Regions from separate parts of the Homo sapiens genome. Here regions 1, 2 and 4 are each linked to region 3. Evidence: promoter capture Hi-C in 16 types of primary human blood cells and fetal thymus (Javierre and others, 2016). All regions are on one chromosome and are shown on one strand. The core of a region is centred on a gene start or on the middle of the fragment in contact, and the rest is flanking DNA. Distances in the headings are between cores, read along the strand shown. Region 1 overlaps RNF144A (ring finger protein 144A). Region 2 has its middle 140 kb from the start of GRASLND. Region 3 holds the start of CMPK2 (cytidine/uridine monophosphate kinase 2). Region 4 overlaps LOC101929452 (a long non-coding RNA gene).

Region 1 (2,969 bases), core at 457-2,956, 150 kb after region 3:
GTCATTATCTAATAAACGGATCCCCAGAGAGGCTAACTGACTTGCCCTGATTTCTAAATATAGTGGGTGCTTTGGGACCACATCCCATGACCCTTCATCGTGAGCCCTCCACTGGGCCCTGAATAGTCCTTCTGGCTGGAGCAGGCCTGATGCAGACCCAGGGGTCCTCTGGGAGAGCAGTGTGGCAGGTGCACACAGAGCAGAACATGATTCTCAGGATAATATTGCAAAGCATTAAGCCATGTGGAATGTCCAGGAGAGGTCTTTAGCTCTGCTCTCTGAAATACTCCGGGGTCATACAATGAAACTGTAAAGAGTCTGTGGACTCTCTTTGGCTTTGTTTTCATATCTATTCTGGGCCCCAGGCTTGTCTGGTAAAGAGCAGAGTGACAGATGTGTGCAGGCGACACTCCATATGCAGAACATCATTGTGTGGACCTTGCAGGCGGATTCTGAGTTTGGATTGCTGGCATCTGCTCTCCCTCTCCCTGCACTGATTCTCGGGTTCTTGACCTGAGCAGGGTCTCACCACTGAGACACAGCCCTGGAGGGTGGGCTTACATGAAAACATGGCCGGATGGGGAGTGGACGGCAGAGGAGACCAGAGGACAATATCCAGAGACTCCCAGTTTAGCTGCATGCAGAGACCTGTTGTTTGTATATTTTTGCTTTCTAAAAGAAATGCTAGAGATAGCTGGGCCCAGTGGCATGTACCTATAGTCTCAACTACTCAGGAGTTCAAGTCCAGCCTGGGCAACATATTGAGACCCCGTCTCTAAAAAAAAAAAAAAAAAAGAAAGAAAAAGAAAAAAATATGTAGCCCACTTAAAAAAAAACTCAAACAGCATTTTTCATGGCATTGACATTTGTTTTCAAGAGTGTGTTTATTAAAGTGTCGTATATCATTTGCTTTGGGGCAGTTTATAGCTTTAATATAATGCCATTTGGTACAAAAGTCAGTACGTAGGGCAATAAAATTGATTAATTTAGACTTCTGAGACTTTCAGGCTCTTCTGAGAATATTTTCCAGAGAGAATCTTGACAGAAACTGGCTGTTGTTTGCGTTACAAGAATATGAACTTTCTATGACATTGAATTTAATTTAAAAATGCAGCTGGGTACATTTTTCAACCTAATAATTTTAACTGTTATTTCTTTAGTACTTTGGCTTAGTCAGAAAATCTTTTTTCCTTTTGCATAAACATGAAGCCAACTTGGCTTCTGTTAAAAAAAAAAAATCTCTCAAGCCTCTCCCTTTAAAGCATTTTACTAACATTATGTTCAAAGTTTTTTTTTTTTTAAGTATTCAGACTTCATACTATAAAAGACCTGTCTAGATAAAACGTTAGAATGTCAGAGCTAAAATATAGTTATGGATTATAGCCAGCACCTTGAAAGAGTTTGGAGACAAGATCAGAAAGCAAATTTTGACTGTCTCTATGGCTCTAAAATCTAGTCAAGTAGAGGACGCCCTGGAAGAAAACTGAGACAGTTCAATGATTTTCTGAAAACATTGAGTTACCAGAAAGTTCTATGGTTAGGTCATGTTGCGCACACTGTCTGCACTTAGTCTTAGAATGTCTCCTCTGATATAACAGCCTTGGTTTTAGCGTCAATGTCTTCCCCTTCTGGAGCTCTGGGGCAAGCAGGAAGCCAGGGAAGGGGGCCAGGAAGCTGAGTTTTCATTCTGAACACCTCCTCACAACTGGCTCACTCCAGAGTCTGGGTAGGGACAGATTCTTGAGCGAGGGGGTGTGGATGCCTCTTGCTGCGTGGACCCCTCTCTCATGCTACACTCGACGCCCGTGGCCCTCTGAGACCCAGCGGTGCTGTGCTAAGGGCGTTGCTGTGCACCTGCCTCTATCTGGAGGCTCAGCCCTCCCAGAGACAGGACTGTGGGTCCTCATGCCTTCGTCCCATGCCAGCCCAGTGCCTGGCCAAGTGAATGCTGATGTCAGATGTCAACCGTGTATTGTTTTTTTTTTTGTTCTTTGTTTTTTTTTTTTAAAGTAAAGCTCAGAGAGATTAAATAATACGATGGGTTATCCACCTGTAATCAGGCCTGACTAGAGCCGACTCCTGAAAATGTTGCCATCTCACAGCAGGATCAAACCCACCATCCCAGCCCTGCACCAGGCACCAGCCCGCCGGGCAGGGTAGTAAGTGCAGGGATGAGAGGGGATGCTGGGTGCATCGTTCTCTGTCATGTACTTCTGAAAGGAAACTGTTTTAAAAGGAAAGCCACCTTTTTAAAAAGTTTTATGCATTTTTAAGCAGGGAGTTCTTAAGAGACCTGCTTCATTAATCTGCCATGAATACGCCTCTGGGAGAGAAGAGTTAACATTAGTTTCCTCTAGTGTGCCAAAAAGCATATCATTTGCTTTGTTTGAAAATATGTCTCATACACACACGTGTGTAGATTGGGGAGGATAATGCAGAATGTTAATAGACATCTACGCCTCAGCCTGGGGCCATGTTCACAGGGTGTGACATGCCCCGGCAGCACAGGAAGGACATTTGCAGTCTGCAGTCAGAGCGGCCGTTTGTCCCTGACCTTTTCGATAGGGAATCTCTCCATGTGAGGACAGGCAGTGCCGTGTCACAGCTATATGAGGACAAAACTAATAAGATTTAAATCGTTCCCATGGAAACCTTAGCCAGGTCTCCCCTGTGTGCTATCCTGGGGGGCCTTTTGTGATGGGGATGCTTAATAGCATCCCCCACTGTTGAGCCAGGAGGGTGGACAGGAGGTGGTGCATGACAAATCACGTGCATGAAGAGACCGAGACCCAGCTTTGGGATGTCTGCTCCTTGCTGATGTCAGAAGCTCCTACTGCACAGGAGAGGTGGGGACAGCAGTGAGACGGAAGGGTCCCTAGCAGGCAGCGCTGCCCTTCTGGATCTAGCCTCAGAGCTATATCGGGAGGAGAGCAAAGAGCGGGTGAGGATTTCTCTTCCCGCGCAGCGTG
Region 2 (2,767 bases), core at 64-2,563, 190 kb after region 3:
CCAACCTACCCAGCTGAAACTGTTTCTCTGAGCTGCAGTTTCACACACTGAATGGTTCATGCTCAGTATTGCATCTTGATTTGGTCTCAAAAGTTCTTAAAATTACACCTGCTCCCAAATTAATGTTTGAAACCATTATACCACCTTTAGCCTACTCCTTCCCTGCAGCTCCATAACTTAGTACTGACACCGCCATCCTCTCCACTGTTCCTTCTCAAAACCATTCTTGACACTGACCTCTTTAGCACTCACACATCTAATCTTTCACTAAGTTTTCAATTTTACCCCTAAATACCTCCCCAGCATGTTTATATCTTACCATTTGCATGGCCAGGAGAGTCTAAGCAAAGCCATTACCCACTCCTGTGTAGGCTACTGCACAGGTGAGTCTGAAACCCCAGCAGGTACCATTTATTAAGTCTGCACTTTCCCAGACCAAACATTCACAGTTCCAAATTTCATTCATGCCTATGATTCTAAGTTGATTCTCAGGAATTAAACTGAAAATCCCAGGTTTTTTCTTACCAGTGGAGAATGGAGTTCACAAAAAGCATCCACGGAGCAAAACTAGCACTGTCCTGTGCAGGTCTCTAGGACTTTCCTCAGAGCAAGTGACTTACCTTGTCACTTGCTTCCTCTCATTGTTTAGACCTTCCTACCCAGATGCTGGGCGAGCATGCACACTCTGTAACCTACTGACGTCTAGTGAGGGTCCTTATGGAGCCTCTGCTCTGCCCAGTAACTAGTCAGAAGACTAGGTAAAGGCTTTATTTCCTTCCCCAGCCCTAGCCCAGTGGTTTGCTGGGAATTTCTCACCCATAAAACTGATTTTAGCATTAGAGTTAATGACTTTATTTCTCTGTGGTCTTGGTTCTCTTACAAATTGGGAAGCCTATAAAATGCACTAGCCAGGTGGAGGAAAGCCTCATGGTGGCCGTTCTGATCTTACTATACCCTTTCTGACATGCTCACTGTTGGTCTCCTTCGAAGGTCTCTCTATGCCAGACTGAACTTGCTTCCTGTCATCCCACACCCATGGTAAGATGTGCCCTCTGTGCTTCCCTTACAACCTAACTTCTCCCATGCTACCATCAATTTCTCAGGCAACTGTGAACCTCCCTCCTTATCTTGGGACATGTCTCTCCTCTGCCACTTATGACTGTTATAGACTGAATTGTGTCATTCCTCCATCCCCCCAAATTCATATGTCAATGCACTGATTTATCTTGAGTACTTCAGCCACACACCAACCATCCCTCCTCAGCCCACCCACCATTCTCAATCTGAGGGTATCTTGGCTCTTAACTCTCTTCTAGGTCATTCCAGTTATGGTTCCTGCAGCACTGGCCCCATTCCACTTTTCGGGTTTTCAATATCCTCCCAATGGCATTTCCTGCTGCTGCCCTCAAGTGTTCCCTCCCCTGTGTTAGGGAATCCCCACTACACATTTTGTTCAGTCCTTGGGGCCCACACTTGATTCAAATTCCATGGTCTCCCCCCCAGTTGTGGCCTTCTCTTCTCTTGCCTCAATACCTACTTTGGAGGCATCTCCTTGTGGCTTCCTTGTTTGTGTATCTCATGCGCCTGCTTCCATTGCAGTGAGGACAATATTAAATATGTGCACCAAAAACTCCCCGGCAGTCTGTCTGCCTGGAACAGCATTTCAGCCCCTCACCTTGGGGCTCTTAGTTCTTTGGAGCCTCCATCTGCTGAGGACCCTGACGTTCCTTGCCAGGGTCTGCTGGATCTCACCCCCAGGGGGTCCTGCCAGTCTGGTGTTTATCAGAGAAACTGCCCATACATCAACAGGAGGTGAGAAGGGATGCTTATGGGGACTATTATACAGCTTTAGTAGTGGAAAATTAGAGGTTTAAAGCTGTCATGCTCTGTCTCTGTGCCATACAGACCTTTCTATATACCCTATACAACAGATTGAAACAATGAATTGCATTGTACTTATTTACAATAGATCCTAAGTTATTGATGATTAACCTGTTTTTCTAAGTAAAGTCTAGCCCAGCTCTATTGCAGCACCTGGTACCTCTTAGAGGCTCAATAAATACCTCCTGAGTGAGCGCTCTGTGTTCCATGCCAGATGCAAGGTTTAGGGACAGCTTAATGAGGAAGGACTTTCTAATCTGGAGGAAATTGGGGAGTCCCTTGGCAAGGGTGTAGCAGAGGCAGTAAGATGTTAGACAGTCAGGAGACCTGGGATGTCATCCTCAATTCATTTGCTAGCTAGATGCACTTGGAAATGCACTCCCTTCTCTGATTCTCAAGTTTTTTTAGTTTGCCAAATATTAAAGTAACTCCCATCTGATGGCTCTCTTGGATGGTATAAGAATAATAGATGAGGAAGCTACTATTCACCTTTCATGCAGGAGAGAGGTTCCATTCATCATGTGGAGATTGGAGTTAAGATCTTACAATGCCTAACAATCCTGGAATTATCAAATTCTAGTTGCTGTGCATCAAATTGAATACATTTTAGATAGCCATACCATCATCATAATTGCTTGGAGTGAATAGATAAAAATTGAAAAAAATCTTGGTATATTTTCTCATAGAAATCTGCCCAGGGATCAAATGTTAAGCAGAGATTTATTAGTGGACACAATGTAGTCAGCAAAGAGGCAGTAGTATTTTGAGAAGCTTCCTGGAGGAAGAGGAACTGGAACTAGGTGTTGAAGGGATGTTCAGGTTTAAACGATGGAGTAGAAGTGAAGAAGTTAATGAATATAGCACTTCTGACATGTGCCAGGTGCTT
Region 3 (2,762 bases), core at 55-2,554:
GGTAAACACTATTTAAGTCTAAATTTCTTAAACCCCCTAAACTCATGCATTTTCTTTTTCACCCCAAGATCCTTGAATGGTGATCATCAGCAAATAAAATTACTTCCCAGCTGACATTATTTTCCCTCACTCCCGGCAGCCCCTTTACTCCCTCTGTACTGCTGTTGGGATGCTTTTACAGCAAGCATCGCGTGGCTTGGTGTAGGTCTATGTTCCACGTCAGGTTGGAAGATCCTTGCAAACAAGAATCTTAAAAGAGTTGCCTGGCATACAGGACACCTTCCCTACCTGATTTGTGAACGGAAATAAACAAACCACCCAGGCAAGAACCGGCTCTACAGACCAGCCTCTTGGTCCAGTTCTCTGGTCTGAAGGGTTCAGATGCCACGCTGGGAGCTGGAAGCGGACAGAACTCTTACCTCCTCCAAAACGGCCCGGGCGGCTTCCCGGTCCGGGAAGACCACGGAACTGGGCAAGTCTGGCACCACCGGGTGCAGCGGGGGCTCCGGGACGGGCACGACCTGTGCGCAGCCCACCTGCAGCCGCCTGCCGTCTTGCACCTCCCAGAGGCGCTGCCACAGCTGGCCGCGCGGGTCGGCCTCGAACTCGCCCAAGTGCGGGCGTGGTGCCTCCTGACAGGCGCCCAGCAGCTCGAGCAGCGCTTGCCGGGTGTCAGGGTCATCCAGGGGGTCGCGCAGCAGGAAGCCTTGCTGTGCGCCGCCGGCCTGGCCGCCCGGGCAGTAGCAGAGCAGCCTGAGCAGCTGGCACCGCTGGAAGGGGCCGCGGCGCAGCTGGTGCAGCAGGCGCTGGTGCAGCCGCGCCGCCCGGACCCGGGCCCCGCAGCCGGCGTCCGGGGTCACGGGCACGCACAGCGAGTAGCTGCGCTCCGGGGGCCCCAGCAGCGCCGCCAGGCGGGGGTCGGGGGCGTCTGCGTCGCCGGGGGCGTCGGCGCCTAGGGCGAAGTGAGCCAGGGTGCAGTCGGGAAGCTCCAGGACGAAGCGGCGCGGCGGAGCCATGGCCCCAGCGCAGACCCCGCGCCGCCCGAGCAGCGGCCCCGACAGTGGCCCGCGCAGGAGCCGGCGGGCGAAGGCCATGGGCGCCTCAGCGACGCCGCCCTCGGCCCCGCCTCGGAAACGAAACCTGGCGGGAGCCAGGCGCCGGCGGGAAACGAAACCCGGAGGGAGCCAGGCGCCAGCGGGAAACGAAAGCGAAGCGTTGCGGGGAAACGAAAGCCGGAGGCCCAGGCGGGGCAGGAGCCCTGGGGCTGGGGCGCCCTTCCGGCCTCTCCTCCTCGCCGCGAGATGTGCGCGATAAACGGCCGGCGCTCGGGAGCAGACGCTTGGCCCCGGGGCCCCAGGTGCGCGGCTCCGCGGGCCTGCGCGGTCCCCAGGCGCCGGCTCCCGGGGCTGACACCGAATGAGGCCCCGCGCCGTCGGCCCCAAGGTAGCTCCGTGTGCGTTCTGCGGGTGGCTGGCGGCCCCGACCCTGGTTTGAGTTCCTCCTCTGCGGCTTATGCCGGGTGCATGGAGGGGGGCGGGGGTGCACGCGCGAGGGACAGAGAAGTCCCTTCCCGGTGTAACGGGCTCTTCAACGCCCACTTGCAGGCGCACTACTGCCCTTGGATGACTGACCAGGCCCTGCAGACCATGGGCTCCCTCCCCGACCTCAACTCCTAGCTCTGACCACGCGTCCCCGCCCCTCTAATCCTGCAGAGCTGCTTTCCTGCGGGAACAGGGCGCAGTTCTGGCTCTTCCCTCTCCTGTATCTTATCTCACCTGTGCACTCACTCACCTGTGCACACACTCACCTTTGCACACACTCACCTGTGCACAAGCTTTTCCCTCTTCTTGGAATTGCCCTCTCCCTTTTGCTGACTCTCCAACTGGGAAGTGTCGCCCAGATTGGCACCTCGAAATCGCCTTTCTTCCACCAAATTGAAGTTTCCTGCACTAAGGTGAAGTGTGTCAGGATAGCACCCTCTGCCTGCCACAGTCCAGCATCAGCACTGTTGCTGCCTAACAGTGTAACTGCCTAACAGTGTAACAGTGTTTGCGCAGTTATTTGGATATTTTATTCTGTGTTTACTCATTAACTGATGCCTTTTAAAAATGATGTCAAGCAAACCAAAAACAAACAAAAAGATAATATTCTCCAGGGAAACTCTCTCAAAAAAATAGAATTGAGACGAAGATTGAAAACATTAGATGAGCTGAAAGCAGTTTTTTTTTTATGTCTTAATAGTATTGGACTTAAACTTGGGATTATATTTAATTCTGAAAAAAAAAGTCTTAACAAACGTGAAATATAGATAGGTGGTTGGAGTGTGGGTTAATAGGCTAAGAAGAAAGAAGAATTAGGAGTTTAAAATTTTTTAGCTCTTTGAGAATAGAATAGTTTTTATTCTTTCTCAGGAATTTCACTTTTGGACATTTAGCATGTACCGGTGGTTTCACGTGTATGTAGTATATGGAAGTAAGAGTCTTCTAGTTACTCCCTTTTCTTCTCTAAGACAGTACTGCATCCTCAAGCCTGCTTGACCTTTTCCCTATGCCATCCACCTCTCTGGATGTATTAGTCTATCCTGGCTGCCATAACAAAATACCACGGACTGGGCCGCCTAAACAATAGAAAATTTGTTTTCTCAAAGTTCAGGTGGCCAGAGAAGCTGGAGATCAAGTTGCCAGCAGGGTTTGCTTTTTCTGAGGCCTCTCTTTCTAGCGTGCAGACCGCCTCCTTCTCTCTGTGTTCTCACGGGACCTTTC
Region 4 (2,777 bases), core at 78-2,577, 210 kb after region 3:
TCCTCTTTATTGTATAAAGAATTAAGTTAGTTAAAACTCATATGTCTGTCCTTTCATCTGGGTTATAAGCTTTGTGGGGAAGAAACATCTGTGTCTATGTCACTCCTAGAGTCCCCACACTGAGCAGAGTACCTGAAACATAGGAGGTGAACAATGAGTATTTCTAGGTGGAAGAAGAGAAAGGAAGAAAAAAAGGAAGGAAGGAAGGAAAAAAGGATGGAAGAAAGGAAGGAGAGAAGGGAAGAAAGAAGGAGGGGGGGAAGGAAGGAATCCCTGTATCTTTAGAATTTATTTGAACGAGATGGGATTGAGTGATCAAAGAATGACATGGAAGAGGAGGTTCTCAATTTTTTTCTATAGCATGACTTGAAAATTTTTAAGTGTAAGAATTATTAGTAAAAGTTTTATTTCTGTTGCAAATACTTGCATTCCAGGTACAATTGCTACTAACCTTCCCAAAACTTTTTTTATACCCATGGATTCTACAGATTAGAAGTTGGGCAAGGCACAGTGTGGATGGTGGATGGCTCACCTCTGCTCCATGACATCTGCAGCCCCAGATGGGAATAATAAAATGTTGGGAAGACATCTTTCCTCTTCTACCCCACTCTCCCACCAGAATCATCAGGAGGCATCTTTATTTCTATCTCATGATTAATGGCAGCTGGGGCCTCAGCTGGGCTATCAGCTGGAACATCCCCCCCCCCACACAGTGTTCTCTTCTCATGGGCCAGTTTGAGCTTCCTCCCAGCATGATGGGCTCCAGGTGAATAAGGCTAAAGTGTTAGCATTTTTATGACACAGTGCTATGGATTGAACATCTCTCCCAAAATTTCGTGTGTTGGAAACTTAATCTCTAAATCTCTAAATTTATATGTTGATGGTGTTTGGAAGTGGGGTTTTAAAGAGGCAATTAGAAATAGATAAGGTCATCAGGGCCCTCATGATGCAACTGGTGGCTTTATAAGAAGAGGAAGAAAGACCTTAGATAGCACATTTGCTTTTTTAGTGATTTGATGCCTCCTGCCGTGTCATGACAAAGCAGAAAGGTTCTCACCAGATGCAGCCACCTGATCTTGGACTTTTCAGCCTCCAGAACTGTGAGTAAAATTACCTCTATTTTTTATAAATTACCCAGTCTCAGGTGTTCTATATGGCAACAGAAAATGGATTAAGACATTCAGCCTTGAAAGACACATGGCATCACTTCCACTATATGCTACTGACCAAGCCAGTTGCAAAGGTTGCTCAAGTCTAAGGGGAAGGGGGGACATGTGAAACAGGTCATATTGTTGAGGCCTCCTTGGAAAGCGTAATCTGCCATTACTGGTTCACCCTGTAAAATGTGTTTCTTACTGTACTTTGTGGTCAAAAAAGTTTGAAAAATCTCTGCTCCTTATTGTGTATGTTGTGAATAACTATAATTATTGCATCATGCTGTTTTGATGAACATTTGTTTCTAATTTTTCTTAATTGCAAAATCAATGCTGCATTGAGCCTCCCTGTGTTTCTGTATGCACATGGAGCAGTTTCCTGGATGTCCATGCTTAAAACTCCAAGCCCTTTCCCTAGGGCTTGCTGAGGGGAAGATGGCCTGTGTGGTTGACAGTTTTTTTCTAATATTAAATATGTGTTACTGTATAAGAAATTCATTGTCAATATAATTGATTTCTATTTTGTACTAAAATGATACTGCAATTTCTTACTTTACTAGAAATTATTTGTAAATATAGCTTGGTTGTTTTCCCATTTTTGGATTATAAATGATTCTGTTGCCACACTATATTTTTTGCTAGCCTGATTGCTACCTTAGGAGTTTCACGGAAAGCGAATAGATGGTTCAAAGGGGACCAAAAACACTTTAAAGATTCCTGGTACATATTGCCAATCAATAGGATGCTATTTCAGCTAGACTGTGGAGATGAAACAAAACCTTTTGAAACCCCATTAGTGTGGTTATACTAAGTCCTCCTGAATATTATTAGAGAAAATTTAAAGTAGCACAAGGTAAGCAATTATCAGAAGAATAACTCCCAGTTAGTTCATAAGTCAGTTTCTGAACCACTTGGCACACCAGTGGGTGCATACAACCCTGTATACAGTTCATGCAGGGAGGCAGGGGGGTCTGTAGCATCACCCATCCTAACACATACATCTCAGGAGTTATTGTGAATTAGCAACAGTTCATTGGCCATGGATGTCCTGTGGGACATGCTGTGGGGAAGCCCATCCTGCAGGGGTGCCTGTAGCTAGTGCCAGTCATGGTTTATGACAGCAGAATAACTCATATACAATACCTGGCTTTGAGGTAGTGCCTTCCTCCTCAGTAAAATCTTGCAAAATTTGACTCTTTCTTGCTTACAGCATCTGTTCAGTTCAGTTCAGCACTCAGTGTGTGCCAGCCCCTGTGCTGGAAATATAGTTGTAGACTGTTTTCTGGGTTCATTCCTGCGGAAGCTGGTCTAGAAGACAGAGAAAGATGGGTGAGCAAATGCTTAGAACGCAATAGGATAGTAATGATAAAGAGACATGCAAACTAATGCTGAATGGTTTCATCACCCTGTGAATAAGAAGTTATAATAGAATAAGCTTCTTATGGTAAGTATAATGGTGGTGGAGGGACAGAATTTTCCCAGAGGAGCCAATGTTTAAACTGAATCGTGAAAGATAAAGTATTTACTGATCAGACAAAAGAATGAAGGTGATTACAGGCAGAGACAATTTTCCAACAAATGTACTTTGTAAATTAATTGGGAAATGACCTGGCACTTATGAGG

What was found. Contacts are between HindIII fragments. The CHiCAGO score rates a contact against its expected background, and 5 or more counts as called.
Region 1: a fragment that was not itself captured here is called in contact with the fragment with the promoter of CMPK2 in region 3 in 4 of 17 cell types (erythroblasts, activated CD4 T cells, non-activated CD4 T cells and 1 more); the score reaches 9.5 in erythroblasts.
Region 2: a contact is called between a fragment that was not itself captured here and the fragment with the promoter of CMPK2 in region 3, in 10 of 17 cell types (activated CD4 T cells, non-activated CD4 T cells, fetal thymus and 7 more). The highest score is 17.5, in activated CD4 T cells.
Region 4: a fragment that was not itself captured here is called in contact with the fragment with the promoter of CMPK2 in region 3 in 1 of 17 cell types (non-activated CD4 T cells); the score reaches 5.1 in non-activated CD4 T cells.

What each region holds. Positions count from the first base shown.
Region 1 is chr2:7,015,328-7,018,296 of GRCh38, forward strand. The region is part of intron 5 of RNF144A (ring finger protein 144A); the gene reads left to right. Among named protein-coding and RNA genes, the nearest start is that of GRASLND, 98 kb to the left of the region's middle. RefSeq lists an enhancer at 1,841-2,340. The HindIII fragment of the contact is 6,199 bases long and covers 1-2,969 here.
Region 2 is chr2:7,055,261-7,058,027 of GRCh38, forward strand. It overlaps a transcript of RNF144A not described here. Among named protein-coding and RNA genes, the nearest start is that of GRASLND, 140 kb to the left of the region's middle. The HindIII fragment of the contact is 2,674 bases long and covers 1-2,650 here.
Region 3 is chr2:6,864,603-6,867,364 of GRCh38, forward strand. CMPK2 (cytidine/uridine monophosphate kinase 2) reads right to left here and starts at 1,305. Exons shown (of 5, transcript NM_207315.4): 1 at 420-1,305. The coding sequence starts at 1,094. It also overlaps a transcript of RSAD2 not described here. RefSeq lists silencers at 616-1,055, 1,296-1,565 and an enhancer at 1,076-1,295. The HindIII fragment of the contact is 2,067 bases long and covers 1-1,832 here.
Region 4 is chr2:7,074,585-7,077,361 of GRCh38, forward strand. LOC101929452 (a long non-coding RNA gene) reads right to left here. Exons shown (of 3, transcript NR_110252.1): 2 at 2,298-2,462. It also overlaps a transcript of RNF144A not described here. Among named protein-coding and RNA genes, the nearest start is that of GRASLND, 160 kb to the left of the region's middle. The HindIII fragment of the contact is 2,520 bases long and covers 68-2,587 here.